Linked DNA regions of Homo sapiens: regions 1, 2 and 3 are each linked to region 4. The links are contacts of gene promoters, found by promoter capture Hi-C in blood cells and fetal thymus (Javierre and others, 2016). All regions are on one chromosome and are shown on one strand. Each heading gives the region's core, a stretch centred on a gene start or on the middle of the fragment in contact. The rest is flanking DNA. Distances are from core to core; before and after follow the strand shown.

Region 1 (3,269 bases), core at 696-3,195, 170 kb before region 4:
GGAAAAAGCTTTTACCTTCATAAATTTCAAAAGGATGAAATAGGCAGAAATTGTCATCCCCATCAAATAACTCTGCCTACACACCGGGCTGTGAGCTCCATGCTACTCGGCCTACCTTATGGAAACAGAAAATGGCCACAAGAAGAAATGGCTCCATTTGAAACAGGCCAATGTTCACACTTTCACCCTGATCCAAACGCAGGGCTACTGACAAGTCCAGAGTTCACATAACCTTTGGCTCAGCATCCCTACCTCTAGGCAGGTATCCTTCAGAAAGATCAGCACCCAGAGGTAAAGCCACATGTGTCAGCTGCTCACTGAGCCATGTTTATAACTGGAAGAGTTAAGATAACCCAAATGCCCCTTGGTAAGGAAACGATTAAATAAAGCAGGATGTAGTCATGGAATACCTTGTAATTCAAAGGAAAGAGGTGAATCTGTAAATCCTGGGATAGAGAGATGTCCATGCTGCACAAACAGGAAACAGCAAATGGCTGAACAATAGCAGCATGATTCCATTAAGTGTGTACATATGTGTATACATGCTTGTATGCATAGAAGATGATTCCAGGCTGGGTGCGGTGGCTCATGCCTGTAATCCCAGCACTTTGGGAGGCCGAGGCAGGCGGATCAAAAGGTCAGGAGTTCAAGACCAGCCTGGCCAATATGGTGAAACCCCCGTCTCTAGTAAAAATACAAAAATTAGCAGGGCGTGGTGGCGGGCGCCTGTAGTCCCAGCTACTCGGGAGGCTGAGGCAGGAGAAATCACTTGGACCCGGGAAGCAGAGATTGCAGTGAGCAGAGATCGCACCACTGCACTCCAGCCCGGGCAACAGAGTGAGACTCCATCTCAAAAAATAAAAATAAAATAAAATAAATTAAAAAAAGAAGAAGATTCCAGAAAATATATGCCAAGGTAAACAGAAGTGGGATGGGTGAGGGGGCTTTCATTTTTTTACTTTGTACATTCCAGGATTAACAACTTTTTTTTATATATTATTTTTGTGATTTAAAAATATAGGCCGGGAGCAGGGGCTCACACCTGTAATCTCAATACTTTGGGAGGGCGAGGCAGGCAGATCACTTGAGGTCAAGAGTTGGGGACCAGCCTGGCCAACAAGGTGAAACCGTGTCTCTACTAAAAATATGAAAACTAGCCGGTTGTGCTGGTGGGCACCTGTAATCCCAGCTACTCGAGAGGCTGAGGCAGAAGAATCGCTTGAACCCGGGAGGTGGAGGTTGCAGTGAGCCGAGATTGCACCACTGCACTCTGGCCTGGGCAACAGAGTGAGACTCTGTCTCAAAATAAATAAATTAATTAATTAAAAATATAAACAAATATATAAATACAAGTAACATATATATACATATAGATATATAAAATAAAGAAGAGCCCCACACTTCTTTCTTCCTCTTTTGCTGAATTAGGAAAAACCAGTACTAGGGAAGGAAACGTCCTGGAGAAGTGAACACTTGGCTCCTGCTCTCTGAGGCTTTTGTCATTTCCCCCCCGCCTTAGCTAGCACATCAGGTTGTATTTTTGTTTTGTTATCATCAGTCAAAATCAACACTTAATTTTTGAAGCAGGGTTTGCGTTAGAAGAAAAACAAAATAAGAACTGCAGAGCAAATCCAAATGGGTTTTTTTTGTCTTTTTTCCTGGGTTTAGCTCAGCTGAAGATAAATCCAGATGGTCTAGAAGCAAGCTAAGCCCAGACCAATATGTTTGTAATGATATCAGATGCTGATAGACAAAAGCTTTACTGGCCTTCCGTCTCACTGAAATGTCTTTCCAACTCTGCCCATCTCTGAACATATCATTTATTTATAATGTATCCTCCCCTTGCTTCCAAATGGATTTGAAGCAGCTCCCAGATAGATTTAAGGCAACAAACAGTAGTTGACCTGAAAATGGCAAAGCAGTTAACATAGAAACTGAAGAACAGAAATGGCAAGAATGAGGAAGAAGTAAAAATGCTATTTTAAACATAAACTCCTAACATTTCATAAGTATATTTAATTTTCAGTTGTTATATACCAGAGTTCCTCAAGGAGGAGATAATAGCCTAGAAAGATACTGCTACAATATCTACGTCTACTGATTCAGTGAATAAATCTAAATTCAACAAGCTTCCCAATGCTTTTCAGACATGACATTGTTCACAAGCCACTCTTATGACCACAGAAGTACAATAAATCTCTTGACACAGACCTCCCTTCCTCCACTGACACAGGGGTTTGATCATCTCCAATAACTAGCTTGAAAGGCAGCATCAAAGTTTAGAGTTCAGGTTTGGAGTCATTCATATCTCGGTTCAAATCCCCAACTATGCCACTCATGGCTGTGTGACCTTGAACAAGTTACTTAACCTCTCCGAGAAAGCCTCAATATTCTCTTGGAGAAAAAGGGATCTCATGTGGAGAAAAAGTGACTCTTTCATACAGCTACTAGAAGGATTAAATCAGATAATGTACTTAAAGCACTTAGGAAGTATACAAGAAAAATTAAGTATACAAGAAAAATTAAGTATGGGCTGGGTGTAGTGGCTCATGCCTGTAATCCCAGCAATTTGGGAGGCCAAGGCAAACAGATCACTTGAGTCTCAAGTTCGAAAGCAGCCTGGGCAACATGGCAAAACCCCATGTGTACAATAAACACAAAAATTAGCGAAGCATTTTTTTCGGCAGGCACCTATAATCCCAGCTACCCGGGAGGCTAAGATGGGAAGACTGTTTGAGCCCAGGAGGCAGAGATTGCAGTGAGCCATGATCTCGCCATTGCACTCCAACCTGGGCAACAGAGTGAAACCCTGTCTCAAATAATAATAATAACAATAATAAATAAGTATGACCACTGGCTGAATTATTGGTACTTTTTTCTTCAAAATATAAGAACAATGGAAGGTGTAAAAAACGATATTATTCCAATAAAAAAGCTGGATTGGATATCTGCATATACATGTACATCTTCACAGACCAGAGAGACAAAAGCAAGACTCGCCTTTCTCAAAGGATGCACAAGGATCCCTGCACACTTAGCTATAAGAAATAACCACATATACCTGCAAACACTGTGGAAAAAAAAAATCACTGGGCAAATAGTGTACGGCTATTGGTACAGGAAATATGCGTTAGCCTGGCTATTCAAGATTGACTACCATCAGAAATGTAGGCGATGTGATCTAACATTTGCGTCTTAAAATTCTAGTATATTCTGGGCATACTCCAATTGCTTTCAAGTAAGCTCCATTCTGAATGTGTCTTCAAACC
Region 2 (3,277 bases), core at 327-2,826, 150 kb before region 4:
TGCACACCTGAGATGGAAAATGGGAAGGGAGATTGGAAAAAAAGGAGATGAAAATAACCTCACACCACTGATGTCAAAGTTAAAATGCTCTGAGGTATTTTACAAAGCCCTGGTTGTCTATGGTATAAGGGAAAAAACGTATGACCCAGTCCCCAAGTTACAGCCTTTTATAATCTACATGGATTATGTTTGAGGATCAGAAGTGGTAACCTCAGAGTCCTATGCCTAACGATGTACCCAGTATGACTTTTAAATTTTTCCCTTAATAAAAAACTTTTAAATCAGAGAGAGTGCATTTTGACTCTAAAAGCAAACTCAATGGTGGGACTCTTAAAATAAAGTACTGGAAAAAAAAATGGGTATGGGAACAGCTGTGGCTCAAATCCTGTCTCCTCCATTTGTTCAAGTCATGAAATATCTCTGAATTGTCGAAAATGTCTGTAGCATCTCCTATATCACAGGAATAATGAGATAATGTAAACTGAAGTACCCAGGACAGTGTGTGGTACATGGTTGAGTACTAAATAGATGTTTCCATCTCCTTCCTAAAACATGCCATGCCAAATAAACACAAAATGTTCCTGGAAGCATGTCAGAAAGCCTTGTCACACTCCTTGGACACAGGACTTGTCCTGGGTGAAGTCTGTCTTTGGCCTTTGGTGCCCCCTTTGGTTCCCCCTCACCCTCTTTTTTGTTCTCTCATCCCCAGGAATCCAAGGCTTCTTAAGGCACAGCACCTTGGAAGCTATTAGGAATTTAGTAGGCATTTCCAGCCTGAATCTAAAAAGGAGCTCAAGACTTCCCTTTCCTATCTTCCTAAGGGATTCGGACCACATAGGGAAAAGAAAAAATCAAGGACATGACATCTGTAGTTCATTATAAATTCTGCCTTGCCAGCCACCTTTCTTGAGCACAAGAGAATATACACATTTAACTATACCAATGAGTAACATAAGATCTGGCCTTGTTAATGCCAGAAAGCCTGGTTAGACATACACTCTGTGTGTGGTTTTTGGGGGGATTTGGGAAGGGATAGTGATGCTGAGAAAACACCAATGAATACCAATGATGAAGTAACATAACTAGTTTTAAGCTATACTCAGAAAACACAACTAAACTGAGAGATGATGGCTTTTTTTTTTTTTTTTTTTTTTTTTGGAGACAGAGTATCACTCTGTCACCCAGGTTGGAGTGCAGTGGTACAATCTCGGCTCACTGCCACCTCCACCTCCCAGGCTCAAGTGATTCTCCCATCGCAGCCTCCCGAGTAGCTGGGACTACAGGTGCTCGCCACCACACCTGGCTAATTTTTGTATTTTTAGTAGAGATGGGGTTTCGCCATGTTGGCCAGGCTGGTCTCGAACTCCTGAGCTCCAGTGATTCACCCACCTTAGCATCCCAAAATGCTGAGATTACAGTGAGAGACACGGTGCTCGGCCTAATTCTTTTAAAGCACTTAAAGACCACGAAATCCAGGGTAAATCACCCTTCTGAATTAAGCAATACTCTTGCTGCATACATCCTGCCTTCAGAGATGGAGGCTGGGATAAACCTTTTAAAATAAGTAGCAGAAAAGGCAACTGGGAACACTCACCTGGAAATTCAGAGGACCAGGTCTTCCACTCTAGCAGAGACCACCCCTCCCTAGGCAGTTCAGCTGGGAGGCTCTAGGCAGGAGGGCCCTGTTAATACTTCAAATCATTTTGTTATTTTTTTCCACAGGTCTTAAGTATTATTTTATTTCAGGATAACAGACTTATTATCTTTAAAAATAAAAGATTTAGGGCTAGATGTAGTGGCTCATGCCTGTAATCCTAAACCCTTTGGGAGCCAAGGCAGGAGGATCCCTTGAGGCCAGGAGTCTGAGACCAGCCTGGGCAACACAGCAAGACACAGTCCCTACTCCCCTAAGCCAAAAAAAAAAAAATTATTATTTTGGCACTTTGTTTTATTTTTATTTATTTTTGAGACAGAGTCTCGCTCTGTTGCCCAGGCTAGAGTGCAGTGGCATAATCTCTGCTCACTGCAACCTCTGCCTCCCAGGTTTAAGCAATTCTCCTGCCTCAGCCTCCCGAGTGGCTGAGATTACAGGCATGCACCACCATGCCCAGCTAATTTTTGTATTTTTAGTAGAGATAGGGTTTCACCATGCTGGCCAGCCTGGTCTTGAACTCCTGACCTCAGGAGATCCACTCGCCTCGGCCTCCCAAAGTGCTGGGATTACAGGCGTGAGCCACCATGCCCGGCTTTTCTATTCTTTTTAAAAGTTTTTTTGAAAACAGAGACAGGGTCTCACTATGTTGCCCAGGCTGATCTCAAATTCCCAGGCTCAAGCAATCCTCCCACCTCAGCCTCCCAAAGGGCTGGGATTACAGGTGTGAGCCACTGCACACAGCCTGCACTTTTTATACTTTAAAATTATTTCAAAGTTTGGGGAAAAAAATAGAAATATAGGCCAGATGCGGTGGCTCACACCTGTAATCCCAGCAGTTTGGGAGGCCAAGGCGGGCAGATCACGAGGTCACGAGTTCGAGACCAGCCAACACGGTGAAACCCTGTCTCTACTAAAAATATAAAAATTATCTGGGTATGGTGGTGCTCACCTGTAATCCCAGCTACTGGGGAGGCTAAGGCAGAAGAACTGCTTGAACTTGGGAGGCAGAGGTCGCAGTGAGCTGAAAAAAAAAATCAGAGGCCAGGCACAGTGGCTCACACCTGTAATCCCAGCACTTTGGGAGGCTGAGGCAGGTGGATCACAAGGTCCACCAGCCTGACCAACATGGTGAAACCCCGTCTCTACTAAAAATACAAAAATTAGCTGAGTGTGGTGGCACATGCCTGTAATCCCAGCTACTCAGGAGGCTGAGGCAGAAGAATCGCTTGAACCCGGGAGGCAGAAGTTGCAGTGAGCCGAGATCGCACCACCGCACTCCAGCCTGGGCAACAGAGCGAGACTCCATCTCAAAAAAAAAAAATTGCTGAAATCCTCCATAATGCCATTCCCTTTCCCTTTCTAATCTCACTCTCCACAGGTAATGACTGTCTACAATTAGGGGCATATCATCCTTCCAGATTTTTTCAAAAAATAAGATTGTATTTCTCCCACTGTTCTTCCACTTTGCTTTCATTACTTAATATACAGTATAGGTTGAATTGTGTCCTGCCAAAATGCATATAGTAAAGCCCTAACCCCCAGTGTGTTGGTATTTGGAAACAGGGCCTCTGATGGGGTGATTAGGTTTAGATGAGGTTAAAAGGGTGGGGCCCTCGTGATGGG
Region 3 (3,311 bases), core at 240-2,739, 200 kb after region 4:
TGCAGCACGAGGAACTTGACCAATTCCCTTGAAGCGGGTGGGTTAAACCCTGTAAATGGGAACAAAATCCCCCCAAATCTCTTCATCTTACCCTGGTGGACTCCTGACTGTAGAATTTTTTGGTTTAAAGAAGAAAAAAATAAAGCTTTGGACTTTTCAAGGTTGCTTAACAGGTACTGAAAGACTGGCCTCACTTAAACTGAGCCAGGAGAGCTGCAGATTTATTAATGGGTGTGTTAGTGTGCAGTGCCTTGCAGGAATTTAAACTCTCTACCCTTAAAGAAGGAAATGTATTTGTACAAAAGCCACAGATAATGGTCCTTTTACTCAAGCGACCTGCTGGATAAATGACAGCCTGCAGGGATTGAGTTTGGAGATCTAGTCTCAATTCTGCTTCCGATTTAGATGCAGTTCACTTTTGTTTTTTAAAGTAAGTTTTATTAATGGAAAGGAAGAACTTTTTCCAAGAAAGCATTTTGAAAGCCACTGGGGGAGGGGGACATTTATGCTTTTGGGCTGTGGAGATCCTTTAGGTGGAGAGACTGCTCTCTCATCCCTAGTGGAATGGAGGTTTGGGTTGGTGAGTTTCTATCAATAGCCTGCTCTCTATAGTGGGTCAGTGACTGGCACCAAATTGTAGTCCTGTTCCATGGACATTGCCCTGTTTTGGTTTTATGAGCTTTTGGCCAGGCACAGGACGCAGGGTGGTAGGGAAAAAAGGAAATGGTTCCTGTGCCCGTGGTGCTGACAGGTAAGGGAAGGGCCTTCTGATGTATTTTATGGGATGCTTCAGAAACCTGGGGGTTGCTTGTGTCTCTGGGAAGCCCTTGGTAAAGAAAGCCACCATTTTTTTTACTTAGGTATATTCCAGTGGTTTATCATCGGGAGAGGGATGATAATGGAGGAAGGCTCAATGAGGGAGAAAGTATTCAGCTGCTTGATGTTAGAGCTTAATGGCAGGACCTACCAGTTGCTTTTCACAGAAATGCTGTGTATTGATCCTAAGGCAGCATGTGTTCTCTTTTGTGTGGCCATTATCCATTCTCCCACTTTTCCATCAGTGACTGCTTTGCTTTTGTTCCTCAATCCTTTACCCAAAAATGGCTGAATTATTTCTGTGCAGTTAAATAAAGTGATCCAAACTCAAGTACGTCTTGTGTTCATTTGAGATGTAAGGTATGCTTACTTGAGGAAGAGGATTCTCTTTCCTAGTTCTTATGTCTGTACATCTCCACAAGATAGTCTGAATATACTGAATTTTAAGAAAACTTAAATCAACTTTGTAAGAGAATGGGAGGTAAAGAGTGGAGCGGTTGACTGGGAGAGTAGTCATCCATACAAAGGAATTAGGTCAGGATCTCTCACCTCCAGAGAAAGGCAAGGTTTGGAGTCCCTGACATGATTCAGTCTGGTTTGACTTCTATGCTTAAGTGATTTGCATTTCTCCTGTTTGTGACCACAAGTGAGTTAAGGACTAACCAAGCAGGAGGGCTGTGGTTTACTCTGGTGCTAAGGATGCCAGGAATAGGAACTGGGAAAATCGGCAGTCTTGGGGTGCTTACTGTAAACCTGGCATGGTCTCATAGACCTCAGTCGTTTAGCAATCAGTGTATTTTCACCTCCCGAGCATCAGGTGTTACTCTAGACGTTACGAATGCAACAGTGAACAAAATAGGCCCCGAACCCTGCCCTCTTGGAGGTCTTTCTCATGCAAGAGGTAGACAATACAAATATAAAATAATCAGAAGGGTGATAAACGTCAGGGAAGGAAGAACAAGGAACGCTGGGGAGGCCGTGGTGTTCATTTAACCCAGATCGCTGGGCAAAGGAAACCATCACTAGCAACCTACTTTGCATGGCCTTGGCACTCCTGTCTTTATTTTAGATACTTTATGTGAATGAACCAAACAGGTGCAGCTGAAACTTTAGTCATGCATTGCTTAATGATGAGGATAGGTTCTGAGAAACGTGGTGTTAGGCGATTTCATTGTTTTTGCAAACATCACAGAGTGAGTGTTCTTAAACCTGGGTGGTAGAGACTACCACACACTTAAGCTGTATGCCATAGCCTAGTGCTCCTGGGCTACAAACCTGTGCAGGATGGTACTGTACTGAGTGCTGTAGGCAAATGTAACACAATGGTAAGGATTTATTTAACCGTACAAAAGGTACAGTAAAAATACAATATAAAATGTAAAAAATGTTACACCCATATGGGACACTTAGCATGCATGGAGCTTGTGGGACTAGAAGTTGCTCTGGGTGAGTCAGTGAGTGGTGAGTGAATGTGAAGGCCTAGGACGTTACACTATTGTAGACTTTATAAATATTATAAACTTAGGCTACACTATATTTAAAAAAAATGCTATGACATGACAGCTGTGACATCATTAGGCTGTAGGAATTTTTCAGCTTCATTATAATCTTACGCGACTACTGTCATATATTTGGTCCATTGTTGACTGAAATATCCTTATGCAGTGCGTGACTATCACTCAACACTGAAAGCCTTTAATTTTTTAAAGAACATTTTAAATTTCAAATGCAAGGGTTGGGAAATATGGGGGGGCGTGCAGAGGAGCTGGGAAGCCATGGTGCTGGGTCACTGATTCCCCATTTTATATAATCTCCCACCACATCTTCCAGAAGTAAAATTCTAGGATTCGACATAACTTGCATTTCAAAGAGTGTTTATGCCAAAGAATTCGAGTGCTTTCAAATATTCTTTAAATAGTTGGGAGCGGGGTGGACGACGTATTTGTTGGGATCCCACAAGAGTGCTATAGTCTAGTCTGCAGGTGATGTTCAGGAAGCACTTCTTCCCCTAAGCTTGTCTCTTGTTAATTGATACAAAATTTTCTTGTTCATGGGGCCTTATATACAGGGAGATCTTCTGAGATAATCACTACTGACACAGGAGCAACCTTAAATATGAAAGCAGTGGACAGGGAAAAAAAGGCAGAACTCATTGTTCCCACAGCTATAGTTGATGTGTAAGGAATGAACAACCCATGTTGCTTTGGCTGTGTTGGAGGAGCCAGCTGGAAGGAGGACAATGTCTCTTCTGCAGACCCCTGGCAATATTAGACATAGGTCTTGCAATTCTGATCTGTGAATTAATTAAGTGGGCACTAGGAGAGCCAGGAGTGTCTCCACACAGCAAAGAGACACCCTGAAATTACCTCTGATTTGCTTCTTAGATATTCCTCTCTCTCTGTGTTTGCCAGTTAATAGAAGAAATACAAAAAATAGCTGGTTAAGTAGTACTTAATTTGTGCAAAGCACTGTTGTAACCATTCACGTATGTGAAA
Region 4 (3,014 bases), core at 297-2,796:
ATAAACCAAAGGGAACTTGTTAGTCACTAAGTGACTGCCAAGGTACCTGTTTTCGTTATGCTAATAAGAGGTTACACAAATTCCAGGAAGGAGGATTGCTAGGTGCAGGGGATGGTTAGGTCACAGGGGGACCGCCTGCCGGCTGGCCTCTGAATAGACCCTGACCATGGCTCCTTAATCCAGGGAAGCAGCAAAAACGAACAGCAATTGGGCTGAAAACAGGGCGAAGGTCCTTGCGTTAGGCCGGGAGAGTCGTTCTTAAAAACATGCATCCTCCCAGAGGTCACGGCCTCCTTCACATCGTCCAGGTCGGGCACGGGTCCCAGAGAACGACACCCCAGTGTACATGAGGTACTGAGCGAAGACAGTGGGCATTGCTTCTCCCCTCCCCATCCCCGAACTACTCTTGCCAGCCATCACACACAAGGAAAGGTATTCTCTATAACCAAACGGATGATTTCGTCCACTTCTTCCTTAAACACCTAAAAACCACAGCGACAGCACTAGTAGCCCTTCATTCGGAATCAGAGCAGCAGCATCTGCGAACCTGCAAAGACCAGGGGCTAAGGGTGCCAGGACACAGCGAGAGTGGCCCCTGCTCAGATCCGACACAAGCCTCGGGGGCTCCCGGCGGCGTAGACGCCGCACTTCGCTCGCTTCCCGCTCTGCACCTACCTCGCTCGCACATCCGCCAGCGTCCGGCACCTGAGCCGTCGGTTCCGCGGGTGCCTTCTCCTCTTCCCCGGCGTCCAAGGGGCCACTCCGAGCCGCTCGGGGGTCCCCGCCGCCCCCCTGCACAGCCTGGCTGCCGCCGTCCACGCTGGCGCCGGCTCCTCCGGTGGACGAGGCGGCGGCGGCGCCGAGCAGCCCGTGGGCCTCGTCCGCGCTCCCGGCAGCCACGCTGTGCACCAGCCATGCATCCACGCTGGTGCGAGGGACGAAGGGGACCCCGAGCGCGCGCACCTCCCGGAGCAGCTGGCCCTCGGGCGGCGCGGCAGGGTCCAGCTCCCGGCCCTTGGGGTGCAAGTGGCCCGCGCGCCCCCACCCTCCCGAGGCCGAGAAGGGGCTGAGCGCGTAGGCGGAGCTGGCCGGGCCGCCCAGGAACAGCAGCTCGTCCTGCAGCAGGGTGGGCGGCGGCAGCAGCAGGTAAAGATCTAGGTCTACGCGGAGCCCCGCCAAGCTCAGCAGGAGGGTGAGGTGCAGGAGGCCGCCGCCGGCCGACCACCACCGCTTCAGGTGCTTCATCGCCGCCGCGCGCCCGGGAACGCCCCTGCCGGCGCCCGCGGGTCCCGGCGCCCCAGCCGCCGGGGTGACACGTGCGGACCCCGCGCGCCGCCCGCACCTGCCTGGAACCCAGATAAGCGAAACAATGGACCGGGGCGCGTGGCGGCCGTCGCGGGTTCCCAGCACCGGGCACAAAGGCGTTCCCTCGGCAGCCGGCACCGTGCCTGGCACCGCCGGGGATCGGGAGAAGCGAAGAAGGAGCCACCTGAGCGCCGAGCCCGTTCGCCCAGCCGCCCGCAGCCCGGCGCGGTGGCCAAGCTCCGCCCCCGGCCGCGGGCGCAGCCGACAGGAACACGCCCCCTGCCGCCCGGGGCCCGCGCCCGTGGGAGGGGCCGCACGGGGCGGGGCTCCCCGAGCTCAAAGCCTCTTTATGTCCGGGGAACGCAAGGCTTTCTGGGAGCAGAAGTTGTTCTGGGCACCAAGTGGCCCCTTGCCACCCTGTGGCCGTGAGCTGGGCCATCCTTGCTGAAAGCCAAGGGCGGGAGTTGGGGTGGAGGGCTAGGTGGTGGGTAGCTGGGTGGGAAGGGACAGGATGTGTAGACTGGGCGGAGAGTGACTGGGCAGCTACGAGGGGCCTGGCAGCTTGCAACGGGCTTCCACCCCAACGTGAGGACACTTGGCGGGCAGAGTGGGCAAGAGTAACCTCTCTGTCTCAGTTCCGCTATCTGTAAAATGGGGATCATAGAGCCTGTCAAACAGGGATGTGTTGAGGTCAGATGAAATATTTCGTGTAAAGTTCGGAGTTTCACATATAAATTCCACCGTTGCCATTGGGATCAGTCATCCCACCACTCCGCACACCCCAGTCCCAGCCTCACAGACCCCTCTCTCTTCTCTGGGCGTGCTCTGCATAGTGCTAGACCTCCTCTCGGTATCCTTTGCTCCTTATCCGTTGTTTCCTTGAGGGTTGACAGCACCAGCTCTACAGTTACCCTGAGTGAGTTCAAGTCCCCCCTCCACTTGAGGGGCGACCTTGGACAAATCTCTCCTTTTCTCTGTGCCTCAGTTTTCTCACTGTAAAATGAGACTAATAATAGCACCTCCCCAGCAGACCTTTTGTGAGCCCCAAATGAGATAATGCATGTAAACCACCGACCACAGCACTGCATGGGTAGGAAGTGCTCCCTGCTACCCATTGTTTGTGTTACTCACCCTCAAGGCTTAGCTCCAAAGCTACATCCTCTGAATTTTCACCAGTTGGCATTAATCTCTCCCCCATCTGTTGCACCGTGATTTCTCCGTTTGCCAACATTGTAACAGTTGGCCCATTCAACTCTGTGTTGTAGATGAGAATCGGTCTGATTTGCCCATTGTAAATTCTTGAGGACAAGGAACCTGTTTGGTTCACCTTTGTCCATGCACAGTACCCAGCACTGGGCCTTGCAAGGGTAGGTTTTACTAACCTTAGCTCCCTTCCTTGGAAGAAAAGGGGACAGGAGGGGATGCCCAACTGAGAATGGGCAGTTGTGTAAAAAGTTGAGCAAGACTTGTTTTAAAAGGCCCCTCCCTCCACCTGGCTTTCTCATCTCTCTCCTGGGCTAGTGTAGTAAGAAGAGAAAAGAATGGGGACCAGGGGAGCAGAAACAGGGGAGCAGAGGAAAGTTGCTTCCTCTGTGTTAAGCCTTGGAAGATGGGTTGGGGTGGCAAAGAGGATGAAGAAAGGTGATTGCCAGGTTATCAAGACCCCGTTCACAGCATTTAGTCTTTGAACAGCGGATTTAGAGTCTCAG

What was found. The method cuts DNA at HindIII sites, captures the fragments that hold promoters and counts their contacts. A CHiCAGO score of 5 or more calls a contact.
Region 1: a contact is called between a fragment that was not itself captured here and the fragment with the promoter of NFE2L3 in region 4, in 1 of 17 cell types (activated CD4 T cells). The highest score is 5.4, in activated CD4 T cells.
Region 2: a contact is called between a fragment that was not itself captured here and the fragment with the promoter of NFE2L3 in region 4, in 4 of 17 cell types (activated CD4 T cells, non-activated CD4 T cells, total CD8 T cells and 1 more). The highest score is 8.7, in activated CD4 T cells.
Region 3: a contact is called between a fragment that was not itself captured here and the fragment with the promoter of NFE2L3 in region 4, in 1 of 17 cell types (fetal thymus). The highest score is 5.6, in fetal thymus.

Annotation. Positions count from the first base shown.
Region 1 is chr7:26,318,033-26,321,301 of GRCh38, reverse strand. All of the region lies in intron 1 of SNX10 (sorting nexin 10), which reads right to left. Among named protein-coding and RNA genes, the nearest start is that of SNX10, 28 kb to the right of the region's middle. The HindIII fragment of the contact is 372 bases long and covers 1,760-2,131 here.
Region 2 is chr7:26,298,900-26,302,176 of GRCh38, reverse strand. The region is part of intron 1 of SNX10 (sorting nexin 10); the gene reads right to left. Among named protein-coding and RNA genes, the nearest start is that of SNX10, 8.7 kb to the right of the region's middle. The HindIII fragment of the contact is 7,941 bases long and covers 1-3,277 here.
Region 3 is chr7:25,946,493-25,949,803 of GRCh38, reverse strand. All of the region lies in intron 6 of LOC105375199 (a long non-coding RNA gene), which reads left to right. Among named protein-coding and RNA genes, the nearest start is that of MIR148A, 1.8 kb to the left of the region's middle. RefSeq lists an enhancer at 1,708-1,777. The HindIII fragment of the contact is 2,684 bases long and covers 148-2,831 here.
Region 4 is chr7:26,150,730-26,153,743 of GRCh38, reverse strand. NFE2L3 (NFE2 like bZIP transcription factor 3) reads right to left here and starts at 1,546. Exons shown (of 4, transcript NM_004289.7): 1 at 676-1,546. The coding sequence starts at 1,245. RefSeq lists enhancers at 458-647, 1-791, 792-1,586 and silencers at 768-837, 848-1,097, 1,208-1,277, 1,288-1,357, 1,378-1,757. The HindIII fragment of the contact is 3,470 bases long and covers 1-3,014 here.